4 separate regions of the Homo sapiens genome follow, and regions 2, 3 and 4 are each linked to region 1. Evidence: promoter capture Hi-C in human tissues and cell types (Jung and others, 2019). All regions are on one chromosome and are shown on one strand. The core of a region is centred on a gene start or on the middle of the fragment in contact, and the rest is flanking DNA. Distances in the headings are between cores, read along the strand shown. Region 1 holds the start of NRG3 (neuregulin 3). Region 2 has its middle 41 kb from the start of NRG3. Region 3 overlaps NRG3 (neuregulin 3). Region 4 overlaps NRG3 (neuregulin 3).

Evidence for each region. Contacts are between HindIII fragments. The study calls those that stand out against the background at their distance.
Region 2: a contact is called between a fragment that was not itself captured here and the fragment with the promoter of NRG3 in region 1, in 2 of the 25 tissues and cell types used here (hippocampus and liver).
Region 3: a contact is called between a fragment that was not itself captured here and the fragment with the promoter of NRG3 in region 1, in 2 of the 25 tissues and cell types used here (hippocampus and neural progenitor cells).
Region 4: a contact is called between a fragment that was not itself captured here and the fragment with the promoter of NRG3 in region 1, in 3 of the 25 tissues and cell types used here (adrenal gland, hippocampus and small bowel).

The regions. Positions count from the first base shown.
Region 1 is chr10:81,873,819-81,876,518 of GRCh38, forward strand. It overlaps NRG3 (neuregulin 3), which reads left to right and starts at 1,376. Exons shown (of 9, transcript NM_001010848.4): 1 at 1,376-2,345. The coding sequence starts at 1,523. It overlaps LOC124902549 (a long non-coding RNA gene), which reads right to left and starts at 700. Exons shown (of 2, transcript XR_007062377.1): 1 at 531-700. RefSeq lists an enhancer at 2,325-2,700. The HindIII fragment of the contact is 10,350 bases long and covers 1-2,700 here.
Region 2 is chr10:81,832,487-81,835,186 of GRCh38, forward strand. No RefSeq gene overlaps it. Among named protein-coding and RNA genes, the nearest start is that of NRG3, 41 kb to the right of the region's middle. The HindIII fragment of the contact is 5,275 bases long and covers 1-2,700 here.
Region 3 is chr10:81,935,014-81,937,713 of GRCh38, forward strand. The region is part of intron 1 of NRG3 (neuregulin 3); the gene reads left to right. Among named protein-coding and RNA genes, the nearest start is that of NRG3, 61 kb to the left of the region's middle. The HindIII fragment of the contact is 3,968 bases long and covers 1-2,700 here.
Region 4 is chr10:81,918,245-81,920,944 of GRCh38, forward strand. All of the region lies in intron 1 of NRG3 (neuregulin 3), which reads left to right. Among named protein-coding and RNA genes, the nearest start is that of NRG3, 44 kb to the left of the region's middle. The HindIII fragment of the contact is 6,280 bases long and covers 1-2,700 here.

The sequences.
Region 1 (2,700 bases), core at 126-2,625:
CCCCAGCCAAGGGAAGAAAGCAGTAACGGAATTTGGGAGTCCAACCCCAAATCCTTTCATATTTACCTCTCACAAACACTTGCCTTGTAACGTGTGTACCTGTGCGTACATTTACAGGTAAAGACAATATTTTAAGGCAAGTTCACATAAATGGCTTGGAGATATCTGACAGGTCTGATTATACAAAGGTCTTCTGCTCCACCTGCATCTCTCAGGAACTCAGGCAAAGGTGGCCTTCCATCCAGCCGCACCGCCATCCGGCAGGGGAGGGCACAGGCACCCTCCCACCCGCATCCGCCCCCGCCCCCTCGCCCAGCAGCGTCAGTCTCTGACCCCACTGGATCCGTACAGGAGACGACTCACAATCGGTCGGAAGCTGCTTTTGCCCCCCCACCCCACCGCAAACGGGGGTTTGCTTGGATCATTTATCTATCTTGTGTGCATTAAGAAACCAGCATTAGCTGCTAGTGGGAGGCGCTACTCTGCCCGAATCCCAGCCCGCCGCGGCGATTCTGCACACACACACGCACCAGCCTGGCAGCCAGAGCCCGTCTGGAGACGCCCTCAGCCCGGGGTCTGCGTTCCCCGGGACCCCCGACGCAGTCTCCCGCTTCCGTCCCCCACGCTCAACCGGGCAGGGCGCCGGGGCGTGATTTCCGATCCTCTGCCTGCTTGTTGGGTCCCTCGGAGGCGGGTCAGACCGCACCCGCCGCGGGCGCCCGGTGCGCCCCCAGCCCCTGGCTCGCGGCGGCGACAGCGGCGCTGTTCGCTGGAGTTTGACTCTCCGGCGGCGGCGGCAGCGGCGCGCAGCAGCGAACGGCTGGAGCAAGGCGAGCCGGGCCGCTAGCCCTCCGCGCTGCGCTGGGATTGGTCTCTCCAGAAGAGTGCTGGCCGAGGGTTGGCTGCGGGCCGGCTGAAGAACAGGTGCACCTCACCGCCCGGGCTCGCGGAGCAGCCGCCGAAGATCGCGGCGGCCAGGCAGGCCCTCTGTGTCGGAATGCGGGTGGCGGGCACCCGGCACCCCGCGACCGGCCGCCGGGGCCACTGAAGGCGGCGCGAGGCCCAGGCGCGGCGCGAGCGGGCGCCCCAGGGAGCGGGCTGGGCGCGGTGCCCCGAGGATGTCGGCGCTCCTGGAGCGCACGCAGGCGGCGGGCAGCAGCAGCAGCAGCGGGCGCGGGGACCCGGCGCGCAGGAGGCGGCTTGGAGGGCTGCAGACGCGCCCCGCCGCTCTCTGACCGACCGGAGGCGCCGGGGGCCCGTCTCGCCCCTCTTCCGAGCTCCTTACCGCCCCCTCCCCGGCCCCGTCCCCTCCCCCGCTCCTCTCCTCCCCGCCCGCCGCCCGCCTCTCGGGGGGAGGGGCGTGGGGGCAGGGAGCGGATTTGCATGCGGCCGCCGCGGCCGCTGCCTGCGCCCGAGCCCGCCGCCGCCGCCGGAGCCCGCGCCCGCGCCCGCGCCCGGCCCGCGCGGCCCCATGCCTCTGCCGCGGCCCTCGGGGGGGCGAAGGTGAAGACCGGCTCCTAGGATGAGTGAAGGGGCGGCCGCTGCCTCGCCACCTGGTGCCGCTTCGGCAGCCGCCGCCTCGGCCGAGGAGGGCACCGCGGCGGCTGCGGCGGCGGCAGCGGCGGGCGGGGGCCCGGACGGCGGCGGCGAAGGGGCGGCCGAGCCCCCCCGGGAGTTACGCTGTAGCGACTGCATCGTGTGGAACCGGCAGCAGACGTGGCTGTGCGTGGTACCTCTGTTCATCGGCTTCATCGGCCTGGGGCTCAGCCTCATGCTTCTCAAATGGATCGTGGTGGGCTCCGTCAAGGAGTACGTGCCCACCGACCTAGTGGACTCCAAGGGGATGGGCCAGGACCCCTTCTTCCTCTCCAAGCCCAGCTCTTTCCCCAAGGCCATGGAGACCACCACCACTACCACTTCCACCACGTCCCCCGCCACCCCCTCCGCCGGGGGTGCCGCCTCCTCCAGGACGCCCAACCGGATTAGCACTCGCCTGACCACCATCACGCGGGCGCCCACTCGCTTCCCCGGGCACCGGGTGCCCATCCGGGCCAGCCCGCGCTCCACCACAGCACGGAACACTGCGGCCCCTGCGACGGTCCCGTCCACCACGGCCCCGTTCTTCAGTAGCAGCACGCTGGGCTCCCGACCCCCGGTGCCAGGAACTCCAAGTACCCAGGCAATGCCCTCCTGGCCTACTGCGGCATACGCTACCTCCTCCTACCTTCACGATTCTACTCCCTCCTGGACCCTGTCTCCCTTTCAGGATGCTGCCTCCTCTTCTTCCTCTTCTTCCTCCTCCGCTACCACCACCACACCAGAAACTAGCACCAGCCCCAAATTTCGTAAGTAAACACTGTGTCTCAACTATGATTTACTACTGAGTTTCCCTTCTGCCCTCCTGCTGTCTTTTTCCCTCGCCGCCTGTTTTCTAGCAAGCCCCCTCCCCCATCCCAGGTTTGGGGCAGAGTGAGAGCTGATTAAAACTGGCCACCAGCGGGGAAGAAGGTGCCAGCCTGCTCTGGTTCTGGGGGGGTGGGGGCGTGTAGGAACGGGAGGGAGATTGTCAGGCTCCACTGGCCCCACTTTAGCGGGTCCCAAGTGAGAACAGATCTCCCAACTCCCTTCAAAGGGTTAACGCGAGTGCGATCCCTCCTCACTGCAGACCTGCTGGCGAGCTGCCGGATCCCGCTCCAGTAG
Region 2 (2,700 bases), core at 194-2,693, 41 kb before region 1:
GTGGAAAATAAATTAGAACTCTGCACGTATCAGAAAGAAAGGGAGTAGAAAATAGACCGTAGCCTTTGGTCTAAAGGGGGCTTTTGTGGCCAAGTAAAGAGCTAGTGATTTTAATGAGAGAGAGTGGAAGCTAGATTCCAAAGGAATGGAGAATAGGAAAGCTCCGAGTATGCAAGGACAGCCAGCAAGATCTCCCAATTCGGAAGTCCTGGGGTAAAAGAAAAATGAGATGGTAATGATGGTAGCTCCAAACAGTATGAGAATTGCAGGAAAATGTTTATGAAATTAGAGGAGCTTTCAGCCTTTCAGCAGAAAGAAAGCAAGATAGTTCTTTTTAAGACACCCTTTTTCATTGTTGAATTTATTTAAAACTATTGCTTTTTTCCTTATTATGCTATATAATTCATTACATTTTCAGCAGTAGTTATTAAAGAAATCAGTTTTAAGGACATGTTGGGATGTGCACTAACTTACTTTCTGCTAACTCTTCTGCTGACGCTGTAATCTGCTTGAAACTAATTCAATCTAATTCCGTAGAATGGATTATACTAGAAGAAGATAAATTGATTTTTTAAAGAAAAAGAAAGACCTGGAAAAGTGAATGGCAAACACATTTTTTTTTCACTCAGCAATATCCGGTTAGCTGTAACTGATGTTTGTTATTGCAATAGATCTTGAAATCCTGCCTTAAAAACTTTAATGGGATTAGTGGATCAGTGAGTGTTATTTAAGGTTTTGCCTCATTTACTGTGATTTAGGAAGCAAGATGTACAACAGACAAATCCTAGGCACTTTATGAATGGTGCTGCCACCTAAGGCATACAGCTAGCCAATATTCATAGTGTGATATTTTATAATTTTTCCCTGATATGTGTATTTTGTGTCTATATATGTGTGTAATAAAAGTGCTTTGAGGATTGCAAAGCACTTTTAAAAAATGTTTTTACTTTATTTACTATAAATGCTGTACTCTAGATGAGCTACTTGACCAAAACTATTGAGCCACTTAGTTGATGATCAGATTTTTTTTCAGTAAATAAAGCTCTCTGAATTAATTAATCAAAGAATGTCACAGAAGAACATTCATGGCAATTTTTGTTTTAAACCTGAGGTTCGCAAGAAAGGCTATCAAACCATGAAGCAATCTTTGAAATAGTAACAATAATTATAATATAAAATATGTTGTAACAGTTTTTAATTTTAAAATAATGTATTCATTATATGTTTACATGTTTTATACTCATGTCTACAAAATGAAAATGAAGCTTTAATGGATAAAAAGCCTTACTAAGCTTGGGCGAAACATCAAGGAAACATAGAATAGCACTAATCACTTATCTGAACTATGCACCTTTATACACATCACACATTTAGCAAATAGTCCTTTCTAAGGAGGCAAAATCAACGCTGTTTTTTTTGTTTGTTCGTTTGTCATTGTTGTTGTTTTTGGAGACAGAGTCTTGCTCTGTCACGCAGGAGTGCAGTGTGCAGTGGCGTGATCTTGGCTCTCTGCAACCTCCAGTTCCCGCATTCAAGTGATTCTAGTCCCTCAGCCCCAAGTAGCTGGGATTACAGGGATGCACTACCACACTAGGCTAATTTTTTGTACTTTGAGTAGAGACCGAATTTTGCTATGTTGGCCAGGCTGGTCTCAACTGATCTCAACTCCTGGCCTCAAATGATCTGCCCTCCTCAGCCTCCCAAAATGCTGGGATTACAGGAATGAGCCACACCATCAGGCCCAATGCTGTTATTTTATTGGCTTTTCTTCATCTGCAAAAGTGTGAAGAAGAAATTAAAATGAGTAAAGGGATGCAGGAAAAGTCTTCCCAAACTGAAAAATAAAGTCAGTTCTTATACAACATTTACCAATGGCTACAACTTGTCTACATTTTTATTAGGCACACTCTTCAAAATGGTGACTCGAACTGTTGAAAGCAACAATCATACAATAGCTATCATTCTGACAGTATGGAAATCAGTTTGAAATTTCTGTAAAACATTACACTTACATGTCATATTTGTGTGACAAACCTCTGTTAAATGCTTGCAAGTTTGTAGAATGGTTTATCCACACTATCACATTTAACATTGATTCTGTGAGAGGGGGCTTATTTTGACCATTTCCAGACAGGAAGCAGGTACTGAGAGGTGTCAGAAGTGGTAAAACCTGAATTTTCCATTCAGGCTTACTGTCTCCCAGGCAAGGGTTCTCAAAAAGCATCTTTGTGTGGGGGTATGAAAGAGATTAGAGATCATACGGATATAAATTCAAGTCTTAATTCCAACACCTGACAGGTAACTTTGCAAGCTTTGCTACAAGTATTGTTAAGCTCTCTGAACGTTCTTTGCTGTAAGGTTCTTGTGAGGCTTAAATGAGATAATGTTTATGAAAGCACCTTGTAAGTATTAATTTTCTATCAAAATGTTAACAGTTGTGATGTATTTGCCAAAAGAAAGCTGTACTGATATTTGGAATGGACTTGTGGGAATGATTTTAATGGGAAATAAATTGCCTGTGAAACAGTCCCAATCACGAATGCAAATCCTGCTGGCAAATGTGGCAGAGCCTGGAAAAGACACATTCAGATATTGTCTCCTTATCCCTCTAATGTCTCTGTGACTAAGGGAGTGTAGCAGCTGCTGCTATTACTATCACTGTCATAATCGTTATTTTTAAACTATTGATGGAAAACCCAA
Region 3 (2,700 bases), core at 98-2,597, 61 kb after region 1:
CCAAAACATTTAAGCCATGGCTGTTTATTACATTGTGTTATTTTATTCATGGATTAAAGCTTTGGAATTTGGTAAAGGAAAAGATTCCCAGAGACTGCTATTGAAATTTCCTAGTACCCTTTGGTTTAAAGTGTAGAGGAACAATTTTCCAGATAAATATGGAATTCGCTTTTTTATGTTGTTCTTTAGAGAGCTTTAGCCTATTTGGCACTAAGTATAATTATCTGCAAATATGAGTTTGTTTGGCAAGATATTCATGTGTCCTTAGGTATTAATATGTCATTTTGGGGAAAAAATAACTCAATGGAGTTCTGTCATTATATGAATAATTTGTGATGAGTAATTTCCTAAGCAACATCAGAAGCACCAGATGACGATTTTTGTTTTTAGTTTGCAAAATGCATTTATTGTATAAGGATGAAAGGTAAGTAAGGAAAAGATAGGTTTTAGTAGCTGAGAAACTTTAGAGTCAGGTTATACTTAGGTGGATTTAATTGCCATACTTTGTTATAGTGGCTAAAGTAGCCCATTTGTCATCTGTGACCTATTTCAGGGAACAACAACAACAACAACAACAAAGAAACTGTGGATAACATCACCCCCTCCCCACCTTTGTTGTTCTTCTTGATGCCTATTTGACAGAAGGATTGAGCACTTTCTGTTTCTGTTGCATGGGCCACTCTCTCTGAGACTTCTCCCACAGTATTCATATCCCTGCTTCAGGACCACCTCCTCTGAGGAGCCTTCCTGACCAACCTGTATAACCCTTTGTTACACAACCCTTTGTTCCTCCTTGGAGTCACTTTCACTGTCCAGCTTCTCAATTTACCCAGCTTTTTTTCATTATACTTTTCAGTGCCTGAACACACACACACACACACACACACACACACACACACACACACACACACAGTTTCCTGTGTTAAAATGGTTAAAATGTCAGCTCTCTGGGGGGAAGGAACTGGTTTGTCTTACCCAGTGTTATGTCCCCAATTGCACAGCAGTGGCGTGTTTCAGTTATGGTCCTGCCTGTGTTCACCATGTAAGTGGGCAGACATGATAGAAGGAGATCTATTATACTTCCTTGTGTTATGTGCCTATGGAATAGAGGGAACAGTGGAGAAAGTGAATAATTATACCTGGGACCTGGGGAAAAAACTGAAATGAGAACTGACATGTTAATATATGTCAAAAGATTGAGAAGAGGCTGGGGAGAAATATAAGAAAGGAGAATTTCACTCGGAGTAACTTGGATAAAATCTCTGAGTTTGAAAAGAGTATGGAACATTCAAGAAACAGTGAACCAAACTGTGATTGGAGTTCTATTCCCAACAGTTGCATAAGGGAAACTGAAATGAGGTGGGTCTGGAGAGGTAGCTTAGAATTAGGTTTTGAAGGAGTCTCTGTAGGTTACTAAGCATGATCAGCTTGGTGTTTTATGACTGTATTCTGATAACTGTGAAAGATGGATGGGAGGGAAGCAGGAAAGGGGTCAGGAAGTAGACAGTGTAAGTGAGGATGGTTGTGTGTACAGAAGTGAGTGGGAGAACCACAGATGGCTCACAAGAGAACATGTGAGAGAGACCCTGTGTCAGCTACAGTTTGTATTAGTTGGTTGATTAGGGATATTATTTTGGTTTTGCTCCGTAAGGTGGTTGGGGCCGAAGCTCTTTCTAACTCACCACCCTGCTATAGTCAGGGTATGGGCCTTGCTGTCATGGTCCAAAATGGTGATTAGTGCTTTACCCTCCACATCTGTTCTAGGCAGCATGAGGGTAGGGTCCAAAAGATGAGGGGAGGGGAAGCCATGTGTAAATTGTGTTTAAAAAATTATTATAAAAAACACATAAAAAATTAATCATCATGTCATGTGTACAGTACACTAATGTTGACTCTATGCACATTGTTGTGCAACAGATCTCTACAACTTTTCCATCTTTTGCAGAACTGAACCTCAGTTCCCTTTGAAAAGTTAGACTACTTTAGATAACTCACAAACATGAAATCGTGAAACATTTGTCTTTCTGTGGCTGGCTTATTTCGCTTCACATAATGTCCTCAAGGTTCATCCATGTTGTAGCATATAACAGGATTTTCTTCTTTTTTAAGGCTGAACGAATTCTATTGTATGCATAGAAAACGTGTTCTTTAACCATTCATCCACGGATGGACATTTAGGTTGCTTCCACCTCTTGGCTATTGTGAGTAATGCTGCAGTGAACATGGGTGTGCAAATGTCTCCTTGAGGTCCTGTTTTCAGTTCTTTTGAATATATACTCAGGAATGGGATAGCTAGAGGATATGGGTAATTTATTTATTTTTTTTGAAGAACCTCCGTATGTTTCCATAGCAGCTACACCATTTTACATTCACAACAGTGCACAAGGGTTCCAATTTCTCCACATTCTTACCAACATTTATTATTATTATTATTTTTAATAATGGCCATGATATCTCATTGTGGTTTTGATTTGCATTTCTCTAAAGATTAGTGATGTTGATAATCTTTTAATATGCTTGTGGGCCATTTGGATATCTTCTTTGGAAAGGTATTTATTCAAGTTGTTTGCACATTTTTTATGGAGTTATTTTGTTGTTGTTGAGTTGTAGGAGTTCTTTATATGTTCTGGATATTAACCCTTTATTAGATATATGATTTGCAAATATCTTCTCTCATCCTCTAGGTTGCCTTTCACTGTG
Region 4 (2,700 bases), core at 135-2,634, 44 kb after region 1:
GCTCATGCATTTGTTGTATTTGGAATGTTTCTTTATAGGTCAAGGACTAGTTTCCCAGTGAATTGATTTAAAGAACTGCAGTCCTCTGACTCAGGCTTGAATTCACATATGATATTGGCCATTTGGGATATCTCTCTGTTATATGGGCAGAGTAAACACAAGTATAAATCTGTGACAACATTTTGGATTTCTCAGATCAGGTACTCCATCATCTGCTTTTTATCACGTACAAAAGAAATACAAGGCCATTTATTTCCCTATTACCCTGTGTTCTGGATTTTTCTATTTATAAATGATATTTTATATGCTCTGTTTAGCAGTTAGTAATGAAGCATAAAGGGAAGCCATTTTAATTAATGCCTTATTTGCATGTGTAGCATGCACCTCTTTTCTTTGATATTATTGGAAAATTATTTTAAATTCAGTCAAAAGAAGATGCTTTAGGCAAATGAGGACTTGCTGATAGAGAGCTGTATTATTTTATTTTACTAATGAAATGCTGTTAATTTTTTCTCTGTATTTTACCTGCTGCAACTGGTTTCCTTGACTTTGTTCATACTACTAGGATTTTTGCAAAAAACAAAAACAAACACAAAACTGGCCATAAGCATTGAATAGAATCATTGCAATTTTCTGTCAAACGAGTTTTGAAATACATCTGGTGTTTAACAACACATTGCTTATTTATTTATTTATTTCAAATCATTAACTACTATTGCATCATAACAAAACACACACACACACACACACATACATACACACACACACACACACAGCTTTGGTTCAATTATACTATATAGCCCTCCTGTTTCCATTGTGTTTGGGGGAAGTAAATGTAATAAATATTTTTAAATTCAGTAACCCATCTGTTGAATTCTTGTTGGAATTAACTGAGAGTTTGTATGGAAAAGGCTTAGCCTAGAACTTCATATGTATGGGACTAGGGGATAGAGCACTTGAAGGGATGGCATGGGCCCCAGGGCTGAAAAGAAGTGCTGAGTTAGGATAGGATATAAGAATATATAAGAATAGGATATAAGTGTGGCAGCGCTGAAAATCAGATGGACATTGCTTCAAAACCGAGCGTCGACACTTGATCTGATCTGCCTCTTAAACCTCTTTGAACGTCTCCTCCCTAATCTGTGATGGCAGAATGGTAATACTTATTTTGAAGTTGTGTCAGGATTGGTAGCAGCGTGCAGAGATTACAGCATGTATTATGAACTCATAAATAACATTGCCTGGGGTGTTATTTTCATTAACTTCATCATCATCATCATCATCAAATATAATCCATTGCTTCAAAGAATTTATAGTCTAGTAAGGGATAAAAAGATTGTGTGTTTGTATTAAAGATGGGGTGGAATTCTTATTAAGTATCAATTTCATTGCCAACATGGACATGGCAAATGACAGGTTCCCCCAAAAATTATTGAGGGAAACTGAGATTAGATATTGAGGAGATTTTGGGACACCAAAACCAAGGCAAATGAAGCACTAAGGCACTCGACAAAATGAGACACCCATGAATGTCCAGAGGTATCACCTCAGAAGTTGGTCTGAGGGGCAATTACACAAGCAGAGCTGAGCAGAAACAGTGGCAATGAGGGGTGAGTGCAGCCAACCAGGAAACCTGCCGTCAATTGTGTTTTATTCTTGGCAAGGCCTTATTTGAAGTTTTCTTTCTTGATTTTGTTCTTCCCCGCTACTGCTAGCCACATCTGACAGATACACTAATATACGAAAAATTAAATAACAATAAAAATAACTTTATAAGACGTGCCTCAAGGCAGAATGAATATCAAGTACCAGATGATGATGGAAAGAATTCTGCTGGAGTTCAGTGGACACAGCTGTCTTATGGCCTGAGGTGTAAGGATGACACTATGAGAAAGGGAGCCTTGACTTCACTTTTGAAGAAGTGTGCAGGGAGCACGCTGGGAAAAGGAGGGCTGGAAAAGAGATGAGATCTTGCTGGATCAACTGAAGCACCTGCCACCTGCTTGGCAGGACAGGAAATCTTAAAGTCAATGCTCCTCACCCTTAGCACCCTGCAACCAAAAAGAAAATTCGAAGGGTTCCTCACTCTATTTGATTGGAGTTTTGAAGAATCTGTGGCATCGATTCCTGGTGCTTTGCTGCCCAGGCACCCCTAATCTTAGCCCCCACCACTAGGGGGCCTCCCTCTAGTCTCCTTCCTTCTAAGCATTGATCACAGCCCACTCAGGTTTAATAAGCATGACTATCCATGTCTAAAAAAAAAATGATACTTTATGACATCAATTTGTTGTGAACTTTTCAAGCTTTTCTTCCCAAATAGCATATGGATATTCAATTTGGAAAATTTTGATATAGGTTTAAACAAAATCAAATTCAAATAATCTGTAATTATGCCAACCCCAGAAAGCTAATGCTTTTGCTTATTTTTAGATATACTTCCAAATTTATAATATTATGAATAGTAGTACACGTCAGTAAGTACACATCTTATTTCACAAAACATGGGCTCACATTTTTCTAATTCATCTTATTCACTTAATGTTTTGTGAACATTTTTCCTTGTTATACATCTACTTCAGTAACATTTTTTACAATCTGAACAGAAATTAATTGTATAGAACAGAACAGGATTCCTTTGTTCATTTTTATATATGTTTCTTCTAATGTTTTTCTCATAACCTAATATGAAAGTGATAGGTT